Regions from separate parts of the Homo sapiens genome. Here all the other regions are linked to region 3. The links are contacts of gene promoters, found by promoter capture Hi-C in blood cells and fetal thymus (Javierre and others, 2016). All regions are on one chromosome and are shown on one strand. Each heading gives the region's core, a stretch centred on a gene start or on the middle of the fragment in contact. The rest is flanking DNA. Distances are from core to core; before and after follow the strand shown.

Evidence for each region. The method cuts DNA at HindIII sites, captures the fragments that hold promoters and counts their contacts. A CHiCAGO score of 5 or more calls a contact.
Region 1: a fragment that was not itself captured here is called in contact with the fragment with the promoter of TP53BP2 in region 3 in 1 of 17 cell types (fetal thymus); the score reaches 5.1 in fetal thymus.
Region 2: a contact is called between a fragment that was not itself captured here and the fragment with the promoter of TP53BP2 in region 3, in 2 of 17 cell types (total B cells and naive B cells). The highest score is 6.5, in total B cells.

Annotation. Positions count from the first base shown.
Region 1 is chr1:223,359,947-223,364,038 of GRCh38, reverse strand. It overlaps SUSD4 (sushi domain containing 4), which reads left to right. Exons shown (of 9, transcript NM_017982.4): 2 at 579-761. The coding sequence starts at 614. Among named protein-coding and RNA genes, the nearest start is that of SUSD4, 2.2 kb to the left of the region's middle. The HindIII fragment of the contact is 1,460 bases long and covers 2,059-3,518 here.
Region 2 is chr1:224,107,322-224,111,642 of GRCh38, reverse strand. It overlaps LOC105373056 (a long non-coding RNA gene), which reads left to right. Exons shown (of 3, transcript XR_007066897.1): 2 at 114-880. It also overlaps the pseudogene RN7SKP49. Among named protein-coding and RNA genes, the nearest start is that of FBXO28, 4.6 kb to the left of the region's middle. The HindIII fragment of the contact is 2,502 bases long and covers 1,742-4,243 here.
Region 3 is chr1:223,843,198-223,847,362 of GRCh38, reverse strand. TP53BP2 (tumor protein p53 binding protein 2) reads left to right here and starts at 1,416. Exons shown (of 18, transcript NM_001031685.3): 1 at 1,416-1,709. The coding sequence starts at 1,683. RefSeq lists a silencer at 1,279-1,588. The HindIII fragment of the contact is 2,144 bases long and covers 433-2,576 here.

The sequences.
Region 1 (4,092 bases), core at 1,539-4,038, 480 kb after region 3:
GAAGGGTCTTCCATTCCGAGGAGGCGCGCGCAGGCCGGGGAGGGGGAGTTGGTGCCTGGTGCAGCTCCCCAAGGGAGAATTTTTTTTTTTTTTTTGACAGCGCAGAGAAATCTCACTGGGGACTGGGGCAGTAGGATCGATCCCAATCCCGAGGAAAACCAGAGAAGTAGCTGGGGGAGACGGTGCCACATTGTGAGATTCCCAGAGTGAAATGTATAGGCCCAGGGAAAAGTGTCTTCGCGGCCCCGAGACGCGGGGAGGCTCTAGACTTTCCTGTGGTGGGCACAGCTGCTGAATCCCGGGGACCGGCGCGGAGCCAATGTGCGCTAACCCCTGCCCTCCCTCCTGTCCTCCATCCCCCAGCACGCGCAGCATCCCACGGCGGCTGTTACTCAGTGCACCCGGCTCGGGGGAAGGCGGGGGACCTCGCCGTGGGAAAGGGGGCGGGGGCCGCGCGGGGGAGGAACCAGGATGGAGCCTGGGAAGCCGAGGCGCCGGGTCCCAGAGCGGAGGAGGGGGAGCGTGGCCCCCGAGCCCGGACAGACTGGCTTATTGTGGTGTTCCGCTTCTGGTTGCAGACTCTTGCAAGCTGGATGCCCTCTGTGGATGAAAGATGTATCATGGAATGAACCCGAGCAATGGAGATGGATTTCTAGAGCAGCAGCAGCAGCAGCAGCAACCTCAGTCCCCCCAGAGACTCTTGGCCGTGATCCTGTGGTTTCAGCTGGCGCTGTGCTTCGGCCCTGCACAGCTCACGGGCGGTGAGTGACCCAGCTGTGGTGGGAGGGCCTGGGGATGGCCCAGAGGGGAGAAAGAGCCTAGCTGCCAGGACAGCCCTGCACCCCTCCCCCATACACCCAGACTTCAGGAGGATCTGACAACGCGAGGGTGCCTGCGTCCCAGCCTATGGCCGCCCTTCTCCGAAACCGCTGGAGTTCCCTGAAAATTCCCATGTGGAGCCCGCACAGATTCACACACCCACATTCTGTCTGGAGCTTCCCACCAGCCTCCGGGCCTGGCTTCTCCCAAGGAAAGACAATAAAGCCTGGCCCATTATTCCCACTTTGGCCAAGGAAGCGGGGGCGGGGGGGGGAGGGGTGGGGGGTGGGGGCAGTGGGGAGTGGTGTATTTGTGGACCTCTTGCCAATGCCTTCAGCAGATAGAGGTCAGATTTCAGCCTCTGGATTTAAGCAAGAGTTTAAGAACCACCTTTGAGAATGTGAAGGGTCTGGAAACGTGGTCAGACTGGCTGCGGGGCAGGTTTATTTGAAAGTTAACTTTCCCTTCCCCTGTGTGTGCAGCATGTATGTGTATGTTGGGGGCGTGGAGGAGGTGCAGAGGTATTCTTTCAGGTGTGCCTCTGACAGATTGCTTTGCTCATCGAGGTATGATTTCAGGGAATAAAGTCAGTTGCTCTTCTATGAAGTAGAAGTTAGCTGAAATAAAATTGATAGCCTCAGCCTCCGTGGGCGGCTAATCTATAACATATTTGGTTCTGGGGGAGGGGTATCTTTTAGTTGTGGTAGAGGAAGACAGATGGAGTTCCTGTCTGAATTTGAGAGCCTAGTCTCCCTGCCTCCACTGCTCATTGCTGTCCATCATTCCTGTCCATTGCAAACGTTCTCTAGAGCTTGCTGATGTGGACGTTAAAAGGAGCTGAGATACTGTTAATATATAAATAAATTATCTTTGGTTGAAAAGCAAGTATTGACTGATGTAAATAAACCATTTTAGCGTTTTAAAATATTGCTGTTTCAGAGAATTCAAAGGTGAAAATGGAAAAAAAATGAGTGAAAAATTAGCAAAAGTGGAGGAGAGGTGTAATAAGTTGGGCTTTAACACAGAGTAATCAATAACCCAGGCATTCCACTTAGACATCTGAAAGATGCCCAGAGTATAAAGGTGTTTATTGCAATGTGCATATCTATCAAAATTAGTGAGAAAACACTTGCTTTGGGTGGACATTGGTTTTTATTTTTATTTTTGTATTTTTTTTTTAAGAAGGAATAACTTTTTGGATGCTTGTAGTTTTTTATAGAGATTTCTCTGAGGCAAGCTTCCTCTTCATGGAGGAGAAGGTCAAGTGTGAGGCCAGGCCAGCACCTGTGTGCCCTGCCAGGGCTCTGGTCACAGCCTCTAATCTGCCGTGGACACCAGCTCTGCTTCACATATGAGTGGGAATAGACGGGCAGAACAGTATTGCGTGGATCTGGATCATTTCCTCCCCTCCTCTCTGCTTTTGCCTCCCAGTTCTAGCTTTCATTCTCTCAAACCAGGTCCACATGATTTTCCATCTTCTTGGTCCATTTCTCTTATGTAGATGACAGACTAGTTAATCAAGGTTCATTTACATTTGTCTTGACTATTGTTATTGGATGGGTGAGGTCTGAGCACAGCTGAGATTTGTTTTGTGCTCTTGGTTCTGCTTGGTCGTGTTTACAGAGCATCCTCCTCAACATTTCAGAGCTCAGTGTACATCATGGCCACCTCGGTCTTATGACAGTCACCTATGAGGTTCCTATAGCATGTCTTTTTTCCCTGCCTTCCTGTGGGGGATCATGCCAGGCAAAAATATCCAGAGCCTTGGAGAAGAGGATGAGAGTAAGGGTTGCCTGTCACCTGTCAGTCTCAGAGCTCTTTCTTTTTAGGCACTCATATGCTGCAGGAAGCTAGCCATCAGCTGCGTTTCACTTTGAACTCCTTCAGGCTGAGAGTGTGATTTCTGGAAGAGTATTTATCACTTCACAGTTCCTCTATGAATAAACCGTTTGGGCAAGCAAGGGTGGTGGGGGATGTCCTATAGAGTTCATTATACAGAGATTTTCTTTTTTAGGAAAGAAATGCACATGGAGGCTCCAATAAGGCAATAAAAGCAAATACACCTTAGCTCTAGACTTGTGCTTCTAAAACTTTAATGTGCATACAAGTCACCTGGGATCTTGTTAAAAGGTGGATGCTGATTCATTTGGTCTGGAGTGGGGCCTGAGACTCGGCATTTCTAATAAGCTCCCAGGTGAAGCAGTTACCACTGATCCAAGGACCACACTTTGATTAGCCATGCTTGAGACCAAGGCATTCCTTAAAATAAGTTGCTTCTGCTCCAGACTTTCTGCCATCATTCTCAATTACTGAATGCAAATGGCCTGTGAGGAGCAGAAGTCTCACCCAATATCTAATCTTCAGGTGATACACAGAGCTGAAAATCAGCCCTCGGAGAGTGCTTTTTTTTCATCCACAAAAAAGTGTATATTTAATGGACACTGTTCTGAAATGTGGATTTTCATTTTTGATTGCTTTCAATGGAAAAGGAACACCGCAATGGCAAGATATAATCGTCTCAGCTAGGAGAAAAAAAAAGCATGTGCCCAGTACAAGTATTGAAGAAAAAGCCTGAACTAGAAAGGCAGAAATTGAGAAAATGATCAAAGAAAAGTAGGAACAGGAACTCCATCAAAAATGAAATGCTTTGTCTTAGAAAGCCAGAGCTCCGATTCAGTTCTTTGAACCCTAGGGAAGCTTTTATGAGCCTGACTTGTCCTGAGATGATGTTTGGGTGGCTCTCTCCAGGTTGTCTTTTGTCGTTAAGGAAGAGTGCCCTCATTTGGGGCCACTGAGACCAAATGCTGTGCAAGAACTCATATTAGGTTGGTGGGGAGATATAGGACCCTGCCGTGTGTGGAATCTGCATGGAGCATGGCTTCAGCTGTTTCTCCCCTTTCTGCCCCAGTACACTTGACCAGAGACCTGCTGGGCTTTGAGGGATGCCCAGAGTGCCCCCCACCCCCAGGCTTCAAGGAAGAGAGCCAAGAGTTTGCTCAACAAGTGACTCCTTTAAGGTGAATTCTTTAGCACATTTCTGTATTATAAATAACTCAATCAGGCTCTGCCACTTGATAGCTTTGGGGTCTCAGGACTTGGGAGCCTCAGCTTCCTCATCTATAAAATGAGGATGACGGTGCCTAATTTATAGGGTTGGTGTGAAGGATGGAAATCATGTAGGCACTTAGTAAATGTAAATAATAGTAGGGCGGAGGGGGCTAAGACAATGCCGTGATTTTGGAGACTTTTGCTTTATTCATTCAATAAACATTG
Region 2 (4,321 bases), core at 1,743-4,242, 260 kb before region 3:
TGTAATTGTTTTGAGGTGCCACCAATCATACCCATATAAGACGGCAAATTTAATCAATACATGTAGGTGTTCTGACTGGCTGCTGTTTCCCCATCTCTCTTCTTCTCCTGCAGCTATGGTGGAAATAGCAAGAGAACTGGAATTAGAAGTGAAGCCTGAAGATGTGACTAAATTGTTGCTGCAATCTCATGATAAAACTTGAATGGAGGCCGGGTGCGGTGGCTCACGCCTGTAATCCCAGCACTTTGGGAGCCCCAGGTGGGTGGATCACCTGAGGTCAGGAGTTCGAGACCGGCCTGGCCAATGTGGCAAAACCCCTTCTCTACTAAAAGTACAAAAATTAGCCAGACGTGGTGGCATGCGCCTATAATCCCAGCTACTCGGGAGGCTGAGGCAGGAGAATTGCTGGAACCTGGGAGGCAGAGGTTGCAGTGAGCTGAGATCGTGCCACTGCACTCCAGCCTAGGCAACAGAGCGAGATTCCAGCTCAAAAAAGAAAAGAAAAAAAGCCAAACTTGAATGGATTGAATGGATGAGGAGTTGCTTCTTATGAATGAGCAAAGCAAGTGATTTCTTCATATGGAATCTGTTCCTGGTGAAGATGCTGTGATCATTATTAAAAGACAACAAAGGATTTAGAATATTACATAAACTTAGTTGATAAAGCAATGGCAGAGTTTGAGAAGATTGACTCCAATTTTGAAAAAAGGTCTACTGTGGCAAGATGTTATCAAACAGCATCATATGCCATGGAAAAAATCTTTGTGAAAGAGTCAATCAGTGTATCAAACTTCATTGCTATCTTATTTTAGAAAATTGCCACAGCCACCCTAACCTTCAGTAACTACCATCCTGATCGATCAGCAGCTGTTAAATTGAGGTAAGACCCTCTACCAGCAAAAAGATTATGATTCACCAAAGGCTCAGATGATTAGCATTTTTTAGCAATAAAATATTTTAAAATTAAAGTATATCATTTTTTAGACATAATGCTATTGCACACTTAATAGACTACAGTTTTATATAAACATAACTTTTATATGCACTGGGAACCAAAACTTACTTGTGTCACTGGGTTTATTGCACTACTTGCTTTATTATGGTGGCCTGTGTGGTCTAACTCTCAATATCTCAGAGGTATTTCTGTATTTATGGGTAGAGGGAAATGATGCCTCAAATTACTTTCAAATGGTTCAAGTAAATAGATAGAGAATGAGGTTAATATAGCAAATACAGCAAATGTTATTAATTGATGAATTTGGTTGAAGGGTATACCAGAGTCTTCCTTGTACTATCTTGTAATTATTTCAGAAAAAAAATTTAAAGGTTGCCTAAACTTTCTGTATGTTTGTATACTTATAATATCCTATGACAAAGATAAAGGTATACAAGTCACTATTTTTTTTTAGACAGGGTCTCACTGTGTTGCCCAGGCTGTAGTGCAGTGGCATGATCATGGCTTACTGCAGCCTTGACCTCCTGGGCTCAAGGAATGTTCCTACCTCAGCCTACCAAGTAGGGACTACAGGTGTGCGCCACCATGCCTGGCTACTTTTTAAATTTTTTGTAGAGATGAGGTCTTACTATATTGTCCAGGCTGGTCTTGAACTCCTGTGCTCAAGCAATCTTCTCACTTCAGCTTCCCAAAGTGCTGGGATACAGACATGAGCCACCATGCCTGCCAAATCATTAAATTTTGAAGCTTTCTTCTCCCTAGTGCTTTGGTCTTATTCTTAAAGCTTCCAATATGTCCTTTCTTTTGTAGCTTTCTTTTGGAATCTAATGTTTGCACAGTAGATGTGAAAACTGCAGAAAAAACTAAGTATGACTAAAGGTTAAGGGAAGTGGGGGCAACTGAAGCAAAGAAATTAATTGGTGGTGTTGAGCTTGTTAGAATTGGCATCCTTTCCCCATTCACTTGGCATGTGAACAATTATCATTTTACCTATGATTGTTGCAAAAGTTTTGAAGTTGTTCCTTTGATTCTCCTACTTTGGGTTGTTTAGCATTCAACATATGCTTTATGATTGACTCTTTCTGACATGTTTGCATATTTATAATATGTTAGTTTTATCTCCACTAATAGATTGTAATTTTACTTTTCTTCTATGATATTGCTATCTCTTCATAGAACCCATTACAACTTAGTCTTAATTAAATTCATTTTCTACCTTTTTAATTAAAACTAGATGGCTTCTTGATAGGTTAGGTTGAAATATAATTTTTGTAAATAGAATCATGCTTTAAATTCATTATGGAAACTCATTTAAAGGAAACCCATAGAAAATCCTTTAAAATATGAATCATCACTCTCTAACTTTATTTTGTAAATCCAATCATTACTTGTTTGCTTGAAGTGGACACATGAAAAGCCTTCCCACTCCCTTAACTCTCCACTGGCAGACAGCTAGTTAACATCCAGATTAGGTGACCTAACAATAGAATACATTGAATAGAATAATACTGATCTAACAATAGAGTAAATACAATGTAGGGAACAATTTAAACCAGTTCCTGCCAGTAGCTCATTCAAATGGTTCTGTTTATGTATATTGGATTTGTGCCCTTATATCTCCTACATTTTAAAATTTATTTAAGTTCATATTTATTTATTTATTTGAGACAGGGTCTGACTCTGTCACCCAGGCTAAAGTGCAGTGGCATGATCTCAGCTCACTGCAAATTCCGCCTCCTGGGCTCAAGCCATCTTTCCACCTCAGCCTCCCAAGTAGCTGGGACTACAGGTGCATACCACCACAACTGGCTAATTTTTGTATTTTTGTAGAGATAGGGTTTCACCATGTTGCCTAGGTTGGTCTGGAACTCTTGAGCTCAAGCGATCTGCCCGCCTCAGCCTCCCAAAGTGCTGGGATTACAGGTGTGAGCCCGTACATATTTTTAATAAGAGAATTTCAAAGCAAATGGTTTCTTTGTTTCAATTATTAAAATCAATGTTTGTTTTGGATTTGTTTCAATTATTAAAATCAGTGCTTGTTTTGGATATGCTTTCCAATCACAACAATTATTTGTAACTAATACAAATATTTGAATTCAAGAGTAGTTCTAGGTTCTAAATATAGTTTTATGCCAACAGACTACAATAGGACCTTTGCAAGACAGTGGTCTCGGGTATGAGATGGACACATGCTTCTTAAGATCTGTGTGTTTCTAGTTTCATATTTGTAAAAGGGGAGAATATTACCTCTCTTATATCACACAGTTGAAATGAGGATGAACTGAGACTGCAAATGGGTGGGGTTTGGAATGCCTCTGATTAAAGGTGTTAAAATCAATTTACTACAATGAGGACTCTGTTATTCTTCTGCTTCCCTGGTTAGGGTGTGTGTTGAGGAGATGGGGGGTGTTGGGTGTGGTGGGACATGGTGAGGGGTGATCTAGCCTATTCAATGGTACCTCCATAGGAAGATGGGCTTTATATATTAAAAAAGAAGCTAAAACTAGATATTATTTTTCTATTTGCTAGCAGATTTGTAATATATTTAGAAAGAATGAAGGAAGAGCTCATATCCTAACTAAAAAGAGATTTGAAGTTTCTATGGATTGCAATTAACTGTGTTTTTAAAGATCCATCTTTTTAAATATTTATTTATTTATTTAAGACAGAGTCTTGCCCTGTCACCCAGGCTGGAGTGCAGTGGTGTGATCTTGGCTCACTGGAACGTCCACCTCTCAGATTCAAAAGATTCTTGTGCCTCAGCCTCCCAAGTAGCTGGGACTACAGGCACAAGCCACCATGCCCGGCTGGTTTTTATATTTTTAGTAGAGACGGGGTTTCACCATGTTGGCCAGGCTGGTCTAGAACTCCTGGCCTCAAGTGATCTGCTTGCCTTGGCCTCCCAAAATGCTGGGATTACAAGCGTGAGCCACTGCACCCAGCCTAAAGATCCATCTTTTGACTAGATAAGACATTTTCTATCATGACTAATATATGAAATTTTATGATTAGATAAATTTTTTAAAATTTAAAGTTTGACTCCAGAAAAAGGTAGTCCACTAGACTTTCAATTCAGCAAGTGTTTATTGATTGCTACATGGGTAATGCTAGGAAGATACTAAGATATAAACAATATTTCCCACCCTGGGGATGATATGAATCTGGCTGCAGTACCAGTCACCACATTGATGGCCTGAATTTATTCCATTGACCTGGCAGACTGGACTGGTGTTTCCTTATTTTCTCATGTGCAGTTTTCCTAAAGTTGTATATTCAGGAAGAAAAGCTTAATTTCCTGGACTATTCTGGACATGTGATTCAGCTGCCTCTGTTCTGCCATTAGAAAGGTGTGTAAACAAAACTTAT
Region 3 (4,165 bases), core at 167-2,666:
CTCAGCCTCCCGAGTAGCTGGCATTACAGGCATGCGCCACCATGCCCGGCTAATTTTTATATTTTTAGTAGAGACAAGGGTTTCACCACGTGGCCAGGCTGGTCTCGAACTCCTGACCTCAGGTGATCTGCCCGCCTCGGCCTCCCAAAGTGCTGGGATTACAGGCGTGAGCCACTGCGCCCGGGCGAGAACGTTAAATTCTAGTTGAATTAACCGTAATTTAGTATTTCCAGATACAGTATCTGGGATGGTGCAATAGGGAGTTCGATGGAGATTCTGGTAAGGGATATGGTGGGCTAAGAAAGAATTGTCTGTTCTTGATACTAGATAAACCCAGGGGATTTACCCCACTTCAGGTTCTAGAATCATGTATAAAGGCAGAGAAAAGTGATTCTGAGTGAACTTGCACTGACAACTTACTAGAACAAAGCTTCCTGGAGTTAGGGTTCCCGCAGTATGTGTCTCTCTGGAAGGTGGAATAAAAGCCTGAACCCGCTCTGCTACTCTTTGGAAGGCAGCCCTGCCATTTCCCTAGGCCTTGGCCTCCCTCCCTGGAAAAGGATGGTATCCACCGGCTCCCCGTATCGGAGGCTGTTTGCAGGGTGTTCCCAGCACCCCCCAGGGAAGCTCCTCAGAATGCTGCCTGACACATTTTTACAAAATTTATTTTTATTGTGGTAAAACATACACAACATAAAAGTTATCCCTTTATCCAGTTTGCGGTGTACGTTTGTTAACCTTACAGCAAGTAACACATGAGTTTTAAATTAGAATTTGGACAACGGCAAATGAGATGAAAGGCGAACAATCCGAAAGCCGGATCACTGAGGAGCTCTGGGAACGCGCCGCGAGCTGAAGCCACACGGGGAACTCCATTTTGTCGGGACAGGGTCGGTCCTGGCCGCCTCCAGGGAGTCGGGTAGTTTCCGCGGCGTGGCCCGGGCCTCCCCTGAAGTCCGTCCGCCTCTCTCCGCCTGGCCCAGCGGCGCGGCCGCCGGAGGACTCTGTCCACGCGCCCAACGTCGGGCGCCCTGTTCTGAAGGCAAAGGGTCCCCTGCCTCGCACGACTCGGAGCCGCCGAGGAGGTGACGGCGGCAGCCCTGGGGCGGCTCGGTGCCATTCACTACCATCCTGTTTTCCTGAGGCGCGGCCTTCCAATTGCCCCGGCTCCGCTAGGAGGCGCGCGCTCCAGCCGCTCCGCCGCGCGGCCCCGACCGCACTTCAGTCCGGGGCGAAGAAAGAAAAGGCGGCCGGCTCCCGCCGCTCCCCGTCTACCCAGCCGGGCCCGCGCAGGCGCGCGCAGCTCCCGTTCCCGCGGCCGCCCCTCCCCCAGGCCGCCGGGCGCGCCGCGGGCGGGGTCGGCGCGGGGGGCGGAGCCGGCACGGGCTCGGCTGGGGCCCGACCCGGGATTAGTTGGTTTCGGAGCGGAGGAGGGAGCCCCGACCGTCACGAGCGTCGAAGAGACAAAGCCGCGTCAGGGGGCCCGGCCGGGGCGGGGGAGCCCGGGGCTTGTTGGTGCCCCAGCCCGCGCGGAGGGCCCTTCGGACCCGCGCGCCGCCGCTGCCGCCGCCGCCGCCTCGCAACAGGTCCGGGCGGCCTCGCTCTCCGCTCCCCTCCCCCGCATCCGCGACCCTCCGGGGCACCTCAGCTCGGCCGGGGCCGCAGTCTGGCCACCCGCTTCCATGCGGTTCGGGTCCAAGATGATGCCGGTAAGTGGGCGAGCGGCCAGGGCGTCGGGCCCGGAAGTGTGCGGGGTCGCGTGCCGGGGGCTGGTCCGCGCCCTCGGGCGCGTCGGGGAAGGAGCCTGGGGGCCGCAGCCCGCGCGGAGGGGCCGGGGCTTTCCGAGCTTCGAGCGGGTTTCAGGAAGGGGAGGCTCCATCCTCTGGGCTCTGCGCCCACAGCCGTCGTGGGGGCGCGGCGAGACCCTAACCTCGAGGCGGGTTCCTCCAGCTGCTCCGGAGTCAGGCGAGCCGCCCGCGAGCCCAGCAGCCACTCAAACTTTTCGTCTTTCACTGGGTCTTGACTTTTTTGCAGTTCTTGAAGGTCAAGAATACGGGAACCGGGGACCTTGTTCTTTGCTGTGTCTTTTTACTTTTTACTGGAGTGAAACATACGTTACTGGAACGGGTACCTTTGCTTTGTTTTTAATTGAATTTCGATCTTGATATCCACAGTAGCAGCTAAGTCACCCTTACCTCTTTGTGGAAAGGGGTTTTGGTAAATGCAATCTCGGAAGTTTTAGATTGCAGGAAAGCGTACGTGCCTGGCTCCCTTCGTTTCCCACAGCTTTTAGCAAGACCTCCGGAGAGGATTAGTGCCTTCTTTAGGAGCTCCGCAGGCTTTTGACACGGCCACCAGGCCACAGATGAACAGCAGGTTTGAGACATTTCAGAAATGTCTCTGTCATTCAGCGATCGCGGAATGGAGGTTTGCGGTGTGTTGCGGTGGCTTCTGCAGACTTCAGTAGCGAGTTTCTTCGTGGAAGTTGTATTTGCACCTCTCCCACTGAAGTGGGGACATCTTGCAGGCATCCTATGCTTGTGGCTCCATTTGTTCAGACAAAGAAACAAAAAGCTTTTACTTTTATGAAGTCTGTGGAATGGAGTGATGACAAAGTTTGCAGTCATACATACAGAGTATAATATGCTGTTCCCTGGCCCCCTGCTTGTGTCATGGAGGGCGTCCCAAACTCTCACTGGGTCGACTTAACAATTCACTAGAATTAGTAATTGGGTTTAGAGGGTTTGGGATATTTTGTCCTGCCAGGATTCAAGGAATTTGAAAGTATTAATAGCATTATGCATCTTATTTTAGTTTAATGCCTGGTTATGAAATCAGGTTTGTAGTGTGAATACCCAATATTGAAATAATGGACCATAGATAAGGGTGATGGATTTTGCTGTTAAGATTTTTATTTCCTGGATTTACATTTCTTTGTGTTGAAGTAACTTGTACGGATTGTCTGTGAATTTTTCCTAACAGTAGGAGCAAGAGAAACACGTATCAGTTGTTGCTATATGGTTTCTTCCTTGTTTTTTGTCAAGGTATCCTTTGGAGATACCCTACCAAGGTATCCGTTGTGTAGCCGAATTCATAAAACGTTATGTGGCTCTTGAGACTATATTCAATTTAGCAGTATGGTTCTTCTGATTGCCTTTCTGATGTCAGAATACAATCCTAACACAGACTCAGTGTGGTATGATGGCACTTACACCAGCTTTGAAGTCAGACTAACACTTCAGTATTGCTCAGCTACTACCTTTAGTGACGTAGCCACTTAAAAAAAACTTGTCCCTCAGTTTCATCATCTGTAAAATGGGGATAATAGTACTCAGCTCTTAGGGTGGTTTGAGGATTAGAGTTATGTTTATGAAGGAAGTGTGATTAGTACAGTGTCTAGCTTGCAATAGGCGGTAGATAAACGCCTCTGAATTTCCAATGTTGGTTAAAGTGGAGATTCTCAGATTTGTGATATATAAAAATATGAAATAATTTTTCATTTAGTAGACTCATGTTATATGTGTCTTTATACTGTAATATTTTGGATATTTGAAAATAAAACTTTTATTAAGTATATTTCTCATCTTTGGCTTTTCATATGCTTGGATTTTTATTCCAACATAAATGTAATTTTGTTACATTGCTTTGGAAAATTCTAACCAATTTATCAGGAAAAGCCATTTAGTGTAAAAAAATGGATAGTCTCAGAATGTAGACAATTGCCTTGATGTACTTTTATTGTGGTAAAATATACATAAAATAAAATATGCCATTTTAACTATATTTAAGTGTACAGTTCTGTGGCATTAGGTACAACCCTTGATTTGCTTTTAAAGGCATTCTGAAGATAATGGTTTACTATTTAGACTGCATTATATTAAAAATGTGCAAATAGGCCAGGAGCGGTGGCTCATGCCTGTAATCTCAGCACTTTGGGAGGTCGAGGCGGGCGGATCACGAGGTCAAGAGATTGAGACCCTCCTGGCCAACATGGTGAAACCTCGTCTCTACTAAAAATACAAAAATTAGCTGGGTGTGGTGGCGTGCGCCTGTAGTCCCAGCTACTCGGGAGGCTGAGGCAAAATTGCTTGAACCCTGGAGGTGGAGGTTGCAGTGAGCCGAGATGGCACCACTGTACTCCAGCCTGGTAACTAAGAGTGACTCC